3 separate regions of the Homo sapiens genome follow, and regions 1 and 3 are each linked to region 2. The links are contacts of gene promoters, found by promoter capture Hi-C in blood cells and fetal thymus (Javierre and others, 2016). All regions are on one chromosome and are shown on one strand. Each heading gives the region's core, a stretch centred on a gene start or on the middle of the fragment in contact. The rest is flanking DNA. Distances are from core to core; before and after follow the strand shown. Region 1 overlaps UNC13A (unc-13 homolog A). Region 2 holds the start of NXNL1 (nucleoredoxin like 1). Region 3 has its middle 15 kb from the start of UNC13A.

Region 1 (2,803 bases), core at 179-2,678, 170 kb after region 2:
TGCAGCCTTGAGTGGCTGCTCCTCTGCTCGCCTCCTGCACTGAACCTCAGTTACTTTGCTCATGAAATAGATTGAGTGGCCCCTTTTACAACAGGGCCCAGGCCTGTGGGAATCCTAGTTCAGATAAGCTGCCCATGGCAAGTGGGTTTATTCTCTGAGTCCTCTCTGAGTCCTCCGTCCATCCTTCCCTCCCTCCCTCCCTCCTTCCTTCCTTCCTTCCTTCCTTCCTTCTTCAGATAAACTGCCCATGGCAAGTGGGTTTATTCTCTGAGCTCTTGTTTTCTCCCTCCCTCCCTCCCTCCCTCCTTTCCTTCCTTCCCTCCCTCCCTCCCTTCCTTCCTTCCTTCCTTCTTCCTTCCTTCCTTCCTTCCTGGGTCTTGTTCTGTTGCCCAGGCTAAAGTGCAGTGGTGCGATCACAGCTCACTGCAGCCTTGACCTGCTGGGTTCAAGCAATCCTCCCACCTCAGCTTCCCGAATAGCTGGCACTACAGGCACATGCCACCATGCCCGGCTAATTTTTTTTTTTGTCTTCTTTGTAGAGACAGGATTTCCCTGTGTTGCCCAGGCAGGCCTTGAACTCCTGGCCTCAAGTGATCCTCCCACCTTGGCCTCCCAAAATGTTGGGATTACAGGAATGAGCCACCGCATCCAGCCAGAGCTTTCGTTTCTTGTACAACAGAAGACTAGCCATCCTCCTGTGCTGCTGGGAGCAGAGAACGACACCACAATTCTCAGGAACCGGCGGCACCGTACTATCCTCCAACACACAGCCCAGGAATCAGATGTCCCGAGTTCAAATCTCGGGTCTGTCATGTACTGGGAGTCACCGTGGGCAAGGAATGTGGCATTTATTCACTCATTCATTTTATTTTTATATTTATTTATTTTTTGAAATGGAGTCTCACTCTGTCGCCCAGGCTGGAGTGCAGTGACACGATTTCCGCTTACTGCAACCTCTGCCTCCTGAGTTCAAGCGATCCTCCTGCTTCGGCCTCCCGAGTAGCTGGGACTACAGGTGTGTGCCATCACACCCGGATAATTTTTTTCTTTGTTTTTGAGACGGAGTCTCACTTTGTTGCCCCAGCTGGAATCCAGTGGTGCAATCTCGGCTCACTGCAACCTCCGCCTCCTGGGTTCAAGCAATTCTCATGCCTCAGCCTCCCAAGTAGCTGGGATTACAGGCATCTGCCACCACACCTGGCTAATTTTTGTATTTTTAGTAGAGACAGGGTCTCACCATGTTGGCCAGGCCGGTCTCAAACTCCTGACCTCTGGTGATCCACCCACCTTGGCCTCCCAAAGTGCTGAGATTACAGGCATGAGCCACTGCGCCCGGCCAATTTTTGTATTTTTGTAGAGCTGGGGTTTCGCCCTATTGGCTATGCTGGTCTCGAACTCCTGACCTCAGGTGATCTGCCCACTTCGGCCTCCCAAAGTCCTGGGATTACAGGCACAAGCCACTGTGCCTGACCCATTCATTAATTTTAGAGATGGGATCTGACTATCTTTTCCAGGCTGGTCTCGAACTCCTGGGCTCAAGCAAGTCCTGCCTCAGTCTCCCAGATTGCCGGGGCTACAGGCATGTGCCACCATGCCTGGCCATTTGGCATCTTTAACTCTCCAATTTCTCCTCCGCAAAATAGGAATTAAAATGATCCCACCTTAACTCATAGAATTGTCAAAAGGATAAAATGAGAAAGTCACATGGTTCCTGTTGCTGTTGACTGAATTTTCTGGGCTGTAGGAGTCAACTGCTCAATGGCTGAGAGTGGAGAACACTGGATTCAAGCCCCACCCATGCCCCTGATGCCCAGGTAACCCTAAGTAGGTCAGTCTTCCTCTCTGGCTTTCCTTCTAGCTGTCAGTGCTACAGTTCTGGCTTGGGTTGGGCCTGGGGCAGGGGACTTACGCAGGGTACTCAGGCACGCGGTCCTTGAAGGCGGGAAGTTCCGTCACATACTCATTGTAGAGCCATTTCACCTTGAAGTGGAGGTTCATGTAGTCGGCACTCTTGCATAGACGATGCTTGTCGTGCTCTGGCCAGGGACAAAGAGGATGGCACAGCTGGAAGGGTCTGCCACCCTCTGTCTCGGCAGAGAGGCTGCCTACTCTGGCCATCACTGATTTCCAACTCAGGCATGAGGGTATTATAGGGTGCTCACAGCCTTGGAGGGGACACAGAGGTACAGCCACCTGGTGTGGCCAGGCTGGGGAACACTGGGGTGGGAAACTCACCCTCCATGGCGTACTTCATGTCTTGGGCAAACAGATTCCACATCACTTCAGCGCTGATTTTACCCACATTCAGCTCCTGGGGAAACCTGGCAAAGTCATGGAAGTATAAAACTTTGGCAGGCAGAAGGCAGATGGGATGGGCTGCTTTGTCCTTCCCTGCCCCACAGAGGAGTGTAGGGTAGGGTAGAGGGATTTGGGTTCAGGTTCCCTCATAGCCACTGCTGACTGACTCTGCACTAAGGCTTTGTTTCCCTTTGAGCCTCCACCCACTCATCCATTTGTCCCTCCATTCATTCATTCATCCACTCATGCAACTATCCACCCATACATTCAACAACTCATTTATCTATTCCTCCATCCATTCATCCATCCTTCCATCCATTCATTCACCCACTCATGCAACTGTCCACCCATCCATGTACCCATCTATCTATTCATCCATCCACCCATTATCCACCCATCCAACCATCCCTTCATCAATTCATTCACCCACTCATGCAACTATCTATCCCTCCACCTACCCATCTATCTATTCATCCATCCACCCATCCATCCATCCCTCTATCCA
Region 2 (3,062 bases), core at 544-3,043:
CTCTGAGGATCATGTCTATACTTGTTAAGGTGGCTCTGCACCACAGACCTGTCACATCTAAAGAAGATTATGACAAATGCGTGGGCAGTAACAATAACATTGTAAATTTGATCCTCTCCGGAATTACCTACAGTCTCCCTGAACTGGTTGTTCTTTCTCTGACAGCCTCCAAGCCTTTCTGCTGTGCCCTCTGCCTGGAACCCCTTCCCTTTCCTCATTCTCCATCCTCCTATCTTTCTTCTCATTGGAGTCTCCCTGTAATTTATTTATTTATTACATTTTTTATTTTTTATTTTTATTTTTGAGACAGAGTCTCACTCTGTTGCCCAGGCTGGAGTGCAGTGGCACCATCTCGGATCACTGCAACTTTCGCCTCCTGGATTCAAGCAATTCTCCTGCCTCAGCCTCGCAAGTAGCTGGGACCACAGCTGTGCGCCACCAGGCCTGGCTAATTTTTGTATTTTTAGTAGAGACAGGGTTTTGCCATATTGGTCAGGCTAGTCTCGAACTCCTGACCTCAGGTGATCTGCTCACCTTGGCCTCCCAAAGTGCTAGATTTACAGGTGTGAGCCACCGTACCTGGCCTTACTTTTTTAAGAGACAGGGTCTACCTGTATTGCCCTGGCTGGAGTGCAGTGGTGCGATCATAGCTCACTGCAGCCTCAAACTCTAGGCTCCAGTTATCCTCTTACCATAGCCTCCCAGGTGGCTAGGACTACAGGCATGAGCCACCGTGCCCAGCTAGGGGTCTCTCTTTAAAGCCACTTTTTCGGGGAAGCATCCTCTGACCCCGGAACCTCACCAAGGTTTCCCTCATTGTATTTCCACTTTGTGGCCTAGCTTTGTCCTCTGAGCACTACTGCAATTCGCTATTATATATTTGTTTTTTGATTTTTTAGACAGAGTCTCCCTCTGTCACCCAGGCTGGAGGGCAGTGGCACGATCTTACCTCACTGCAGCATCTGCCTCCCAGTTTCAAACGATTCTCCTGCCTCAGCCTCCCAAGCAGCTGGGATTACAGGCGCCCACCACCACGCCTGGATAATTTTTGTATTTTTAGTAGAGACAGGGTTTCACTATGTTGACCAGGCTTGTCTCAAACTCCCGACCTCAGGTGATCTGCCCACCTCGGCCTGCCAAAGTCCTGGGATTACAGGGTTAAGCCACCATGCCCGGCCTTGCTATTACATAGTTGATTCTGTCTTTTGCATCTGTTCCTCTCACTCGGCTCTAAGCTCCCTGGGGTGGCATGGAAGCCAGCATGTGGAAGTGGGCACCCCTGTCTGTACCCCCTAGTTCCCAGTATATGGACTGGCACACAGGGGCTGCTCATTCACTCTAGTTAGAATGGATGCTTCACTTTCAGCGAACATGCCCCCTCCTCCAGGAAGCCCTCCCTGCCCCTCCTCACCTCCTCAGATCATCCTCAAAGGGCAGGAAAAGCCATTTCTTTGGCATGTCCTTGAGGAACAGGTCCTGCTGCTCCTCCGTGGAGTCCTGGGACACGTACACCAGGGCCAGCTGAGCCGCCCGCAGTACATAGAACTCATCTGTGAGCCGCACGAAGAAGTCCTTGAGGATGGGCACGAAGGCCTGGCACTGTGGACAAGCCCCAGCACCAAAGAACAGCAGCACCAGCCGGTTCTCCAGCCTGCGACTGACCTCAGCCTCCGTATCCAGCTCGTCCTGGTCGCTATTGTTGCGGATCAGGATGCGGCCAGAGAACAGGGAGGCCATGGTAACCTGGGTTGGGTGCTGGGGACAGCGCGGCGTGTGGTCCCCGGTCTGCTGACTGGCTCCTCTCCCAGAAATAGAAATCTTTAGAAAACCAGCTTAGGACTTCACTAATCTGCCTAAACCTTGACCTGAGGGGCCTCTAAGGGCGGGGGGCAGGGCTCTCTGTGTGGCCCTTCTCAGGAGAGAGCCGCAAACGCATTAAGAAAACACGTAACAGATGGGCACGGTGGCTCACGCCTGTGATCCCAGCACTTTGAGAGGCAGAGGTGGGAGGATCATCTGAGGTCAGGAGTTTGAGACCAGCCTGGCCAACATGGTGAAACCCTGTCTGTACTAAAAAATAAAAAAATTAGCCAGGCGTGGTGGTGGGCACCTGTAATCCCAGCTACTTGGGCAGCCGAGGCAGGAGAATCGCTTGAAGCCAGGAGGCGGAGGTTGCAGTGAGCTGAGATTGTGCCACTGCACTCCAGCCTGGGCGACAGAGCGAGACTCCATCTCAGAAAAAAAAAGAAAGAAAGAAAGAAAAAAAACCAAAAAACCATGTAGCAGACAGTGACTCACGCCTGTAATCTCAGCACTTTGGGAGGCTGAGGCAGGAGGATCACCTGAGACCAGGAGTTTGAGAGCAGCTTGGGCAACAGTGTGAGACCCCATCTCTATGAAAAAATTAAAAACTTAGCTGGGCATGGTGTTGTCATGAGCCTGTAGTCCCAGCTACTCAGCTGAGATGGAAGGATCACTTGAGCCTGGGAGGTTGAGGCTACAATGACTGCACTACTGCACTCCATCCTGGGTGACAGAGCAAGACCTAGTGTCTAAAAATAAAAAATAGGCTGGGCACGGTGGCTCACGCCTGTAATCCCAAAGCTTTGGGAGGTCAAGGTGGGTGGATCACCTGAAGTCAGGAGTTCGAGACCAGTCTGGCCAACATGGAGAAACCCCATCTCTACTAAAAATGCAAAAATTGGCCAGGTGTGGTGGCTCACGCCTGTAATCCCAGCACTTTGGGAGGCTGAGGCAGGTGGATCACAAGGTCAGGAGATCGAGACCATCCTGACTAACACAGTGAAACCCCGTCTCTACTAAAAGTACAAAAAAAATTAGCCGGGTGTGGTGGCGGGCACCTGTAGTCCCAGCTACTCGGGAGGCTGAGGCAGGAGAATGGCGTGAACCCGGGAGGTGGAGCTTGCAGTGAGCCGAGACCGCGCCACTGCACTCCAGCCTGGGTGACAGAGTGAGATTCCGTCTCAAAAAAAAAAAAAAAGCAAAAATTAGACCGGGTGTGGTGGCTCATGCCTGTAATCCCAGCGCTTTGGGAGGCTGAG
Region 3 (2,888 bases), core at 26-2,525, 240 kb after region 2:
GTCCCAGCTACTCACGAGGCTGAGGTGGGAAAATGGCATGAGCCTGGGAGGTGGAGCTTGCAGTGAGCCGAGATGGCGCCACTGCACTCCAGCCTGGGCAACAGAGCAAGACTCCATCTCAAAAAAAATAAAATAAAATAAAATAAAGAGCGTATCCAGGAATCAGGACCCAGGCTACTGTGTGATAGTGGAGGCACCAACAGGATGGAGAAGGGGCAGATCTCAGGGCGAGTAACTATTCTAAGAGCCAGGTTTTGGCCTTGTGAGTGTGAAATGCCTGCAAGGCACTCAGTGGAAATATCCAATGCCATTGGATACTGAGGCCTGGAGCTCTGGGGAGATGCAGGCTGGAGACACCAATGGGATAGTCGACAACACGCAATGAGGTGTGGCTATTTGGGGCAAGGGCATAGATACAAGGTCAAGGGACACCCTGCTCTTCCAGGACTATCAAAGCCAAGACATCACACCCAGGGGTCCACCCTTTACAACTCTGTCCATGCCCAACGCCAGTCCCTGTTATCAGGTCAGCAGGAATGCTACCTGCAGGGAACATGGAATTCAGTGTCCTTGGGCTTACCATAGGTGCTCCTCTTCTTCTCTCAAGTGCCTATTTATTTATTTATTTATTTATTTATTTATTTATTATTTGAGATGGAGTATCACTCTGTCACTAGGCTGGAGTGCAGTGGCGCAATCTTGGCTCACTGCAACCTCTGCCTCCTGGGTTCAAGCAATTCCCCTGCCTCAGCCTCCCGAGTAGCTGGGACTACCATGCCCAGCTAATTTTTTTTTTTTTTTTTTTGTATTTTAGTAGAGATGGGGTTTCACCGTGTTGGCTAGGATGGTCTCAATCTCCTGACCTCGTGATCCACCCGCCTCGGCCTCCCAAAGTGCTGGGATTACAGTCAAGTGCTCATTTATAGATGGGGAGACTGAGTTCCTGAGAGTTTGGGGCAGCAGGCAGCGGGGCGGGGGAGGGGGACAAGGCTGGGACGTGAAGTGGGTCTGGAGTAACTCTCAGAATAGGCCGTTTCTGCAATGCAGACGTCTGTGTAATCGTTCATTCATTCAATGAACGTAGTTTGGATCCACACCCTTGCCCATCTCGCGCTGATCTGAAAGGGGACGTTTCTGTTAGGTGTGGTGGCTCACGCCTGTAATCCCAGCACTTTGGGAGGCCAAGGTGGACGGATCACCTGAGGTCAGGAGCTGCAGACCAGTCTGGTCAACATGGTGAAACCCCGTCTCTACTAAAAATACAAAAAAAAATTAGCTAGGCGTGGTGGCGCCTGCCTGTAGTCAGTCCCAGCTACTTGGGAGGCTGAAGCAGGAGAATCACTTGAACCTCAAAGGCAGAGGCTGCAGTGAGCCGAGATCACGCCACTGCACTTCAGCCTGGGTGCAACAGAGTGAGACCCCATCTCAAAATAATAATAATGATGATGATAATAATCATAATGATGAAAGGGGCATTTCAACGTTCACCATTGAGCACTCGGATCCAATTAATTTTTAAGCTCTGGTGCCCCATTTTCTTCCAGCCAACAGCTCAGCTAATTCCAAAGCTATTGATTTGAGCCTTCTCATCCCTCCACTTAATTATGCCGGTGCTGTCTGTATCTTCTCTTGCCCTTTTTTCTCTGCGGCTCCTTCTTTGCCAAGGTCAAGGGTCCAGCGAGCAAGGAGGATCTCGCTCAGCACAGGGAATTGGAGGAAGGACATTCCTGGCCGAGGGCAGGGTGTGTGCAAAGGCTCTGAGATTGGACCTCTTATTGAACTTAATTGTAGCTGTCAGGCTGCCTGGGGCAGAGAAATCGATGAGGGCAAACTTGGCTTATCGCCTATAAAATGAGGATAAAAAATAATGGTTTCTGCCAGGTGCGGTGGCTCAAGTCTGTAATCCCAGCACTTTGGGAGGCCAAGGCGGGCAGATCACCTGAGGTCAGGAGTTCAAAACCAGCCTGGCCAACATGGTGAAACCCTATCTCTACTAAAAGTTTAAAAATCAGCTGGGCGTGGTGGCGGGCGCCTGTAATCCCAGCTACTCGGGAGGCTGAGGCAGGGGAATCGCTTGAACCCAGGAGCCAGAGGCTGCAGTGAGCCGAGATCGCGCCACTGTACTCCAGCCTGGGCAACAGAGTGAGGCTCTGTCTCAAAAACAACAACAATAACAACGACAACAGATAATAATAATAATAATTAATAATAATGGTTTCCCAGAGAATTAAATGGGACAAAGGCAACATCAATCTTTTGAAAGTTCCAGGCCCTGCCCTGCAGGGATGTAGGGTGGAAATAACACTAGGCTGCAAAATGACTGGATGGGCCTGGAGTGGTTGGATGGGATTGGATGGATCATAAACAAAAGTGATTGGATTGGTCAAGAGGAGGAGACGGAGGCAGGAAATAAAGGCAGACAAAGGAACGTAATAGGTTCAGACCCAATGGAGGCGAGGTTCCGGACTCAGAGAGGGGGCCTCAGCCCAAAGTTCCCAGAGTGGCCAGCTGGGGGCAGCATAAGCCATTAGGCCATCCCAGGGCTGGGAGCAGAGGGGAACCAGGGACCCTCTGTGACCCTCTGACGGAGGTTAACTTATTTGACATGTGCCTGCAGTGTGCCAGACATGGAACAGAACTCTACAAGCACTCATTTAATCCCCATAATAGAGTTTGCAGATGGGGAAACTGAGAACAACAACGTTAAGTTGCTCACCCAACGTCACACATCAGGGGAGTGGCAGAGCTTGGATTTGAATTTAGGAAGCCCAGCTGAGGCCCTTAACCTCTGCACTCTACTGGCTCTCCTTCCCCTAAATCTCCTAAAATGACAGTTTAAAACTTTTTTTAAGGTGGCGCCGGGTGGGGGGTGGGGGGCGGGTGTGGGT

Evidence for each region. The method cuts DNA at HindIII sites, captures the fragments that hold promoters and counts their contacts. A CHiCAGO score of 5 or more calls a contact.
Region 1: a fragment that was not itself captured here is called in contact with the fragment with the promoter of NXNL1 in region 2 in 1 of 17 cell types (M2 macrophages); the score reaches 7.3 in M2 macrophages.
Region 3: a contact is called between a fragment that was not itself captured here and the fragment with the promoter of NXNL1 in region 2, in 1 of 17 cell types (M2 macrophages). The highest score is 5.2, in M2 macrophages.

What each region holds. Positions count from the first base shown.
Region 1 is chr19:17,630,873-17,633,675 of GRCh38, forward strand. UNC13A (unc-13 homolog A) reads right to left here. Exons shown (of 44, transcript NM_001080421.3): 27 at 2,236-2,321; 28 at 1,910-2,036. Among named protein-coding and RNA genes, the nearest start is that of UNC13A, 56 kb to the right of the region's middle. The HindIII fragment of the contact is 8,105 bases long and covers 1-2,803 here.
Region 2 is chr19:17,459,133-17,462,194 of GRCh38, forward strand. NXNL1 (nucleoredoxin like 1) reads right to left here and starts at 1,794. Exons shown (of 2, transcript NM_138454.2): 1 at 1,412-1,794. The coding sequence starts at 1,737. RefSeq lists an enhancer at 1,700-2,200. The HindIII fragment of the contact is 2,658 bases long and covers 1-2,602 here.
Region 3 is chr19:17,701,551-17,704,438 of GRCh38, forward strand. No RefSeq gene overlaps it. Among named protein-coding and RNA genes, the nearest start is that of UNC13A, 15 kb to the left of the region's middle. RefSeq lists a silencer at 1-36. The HindIII fragment of the contact is 7,500 bases long and covers 1-2,888 here.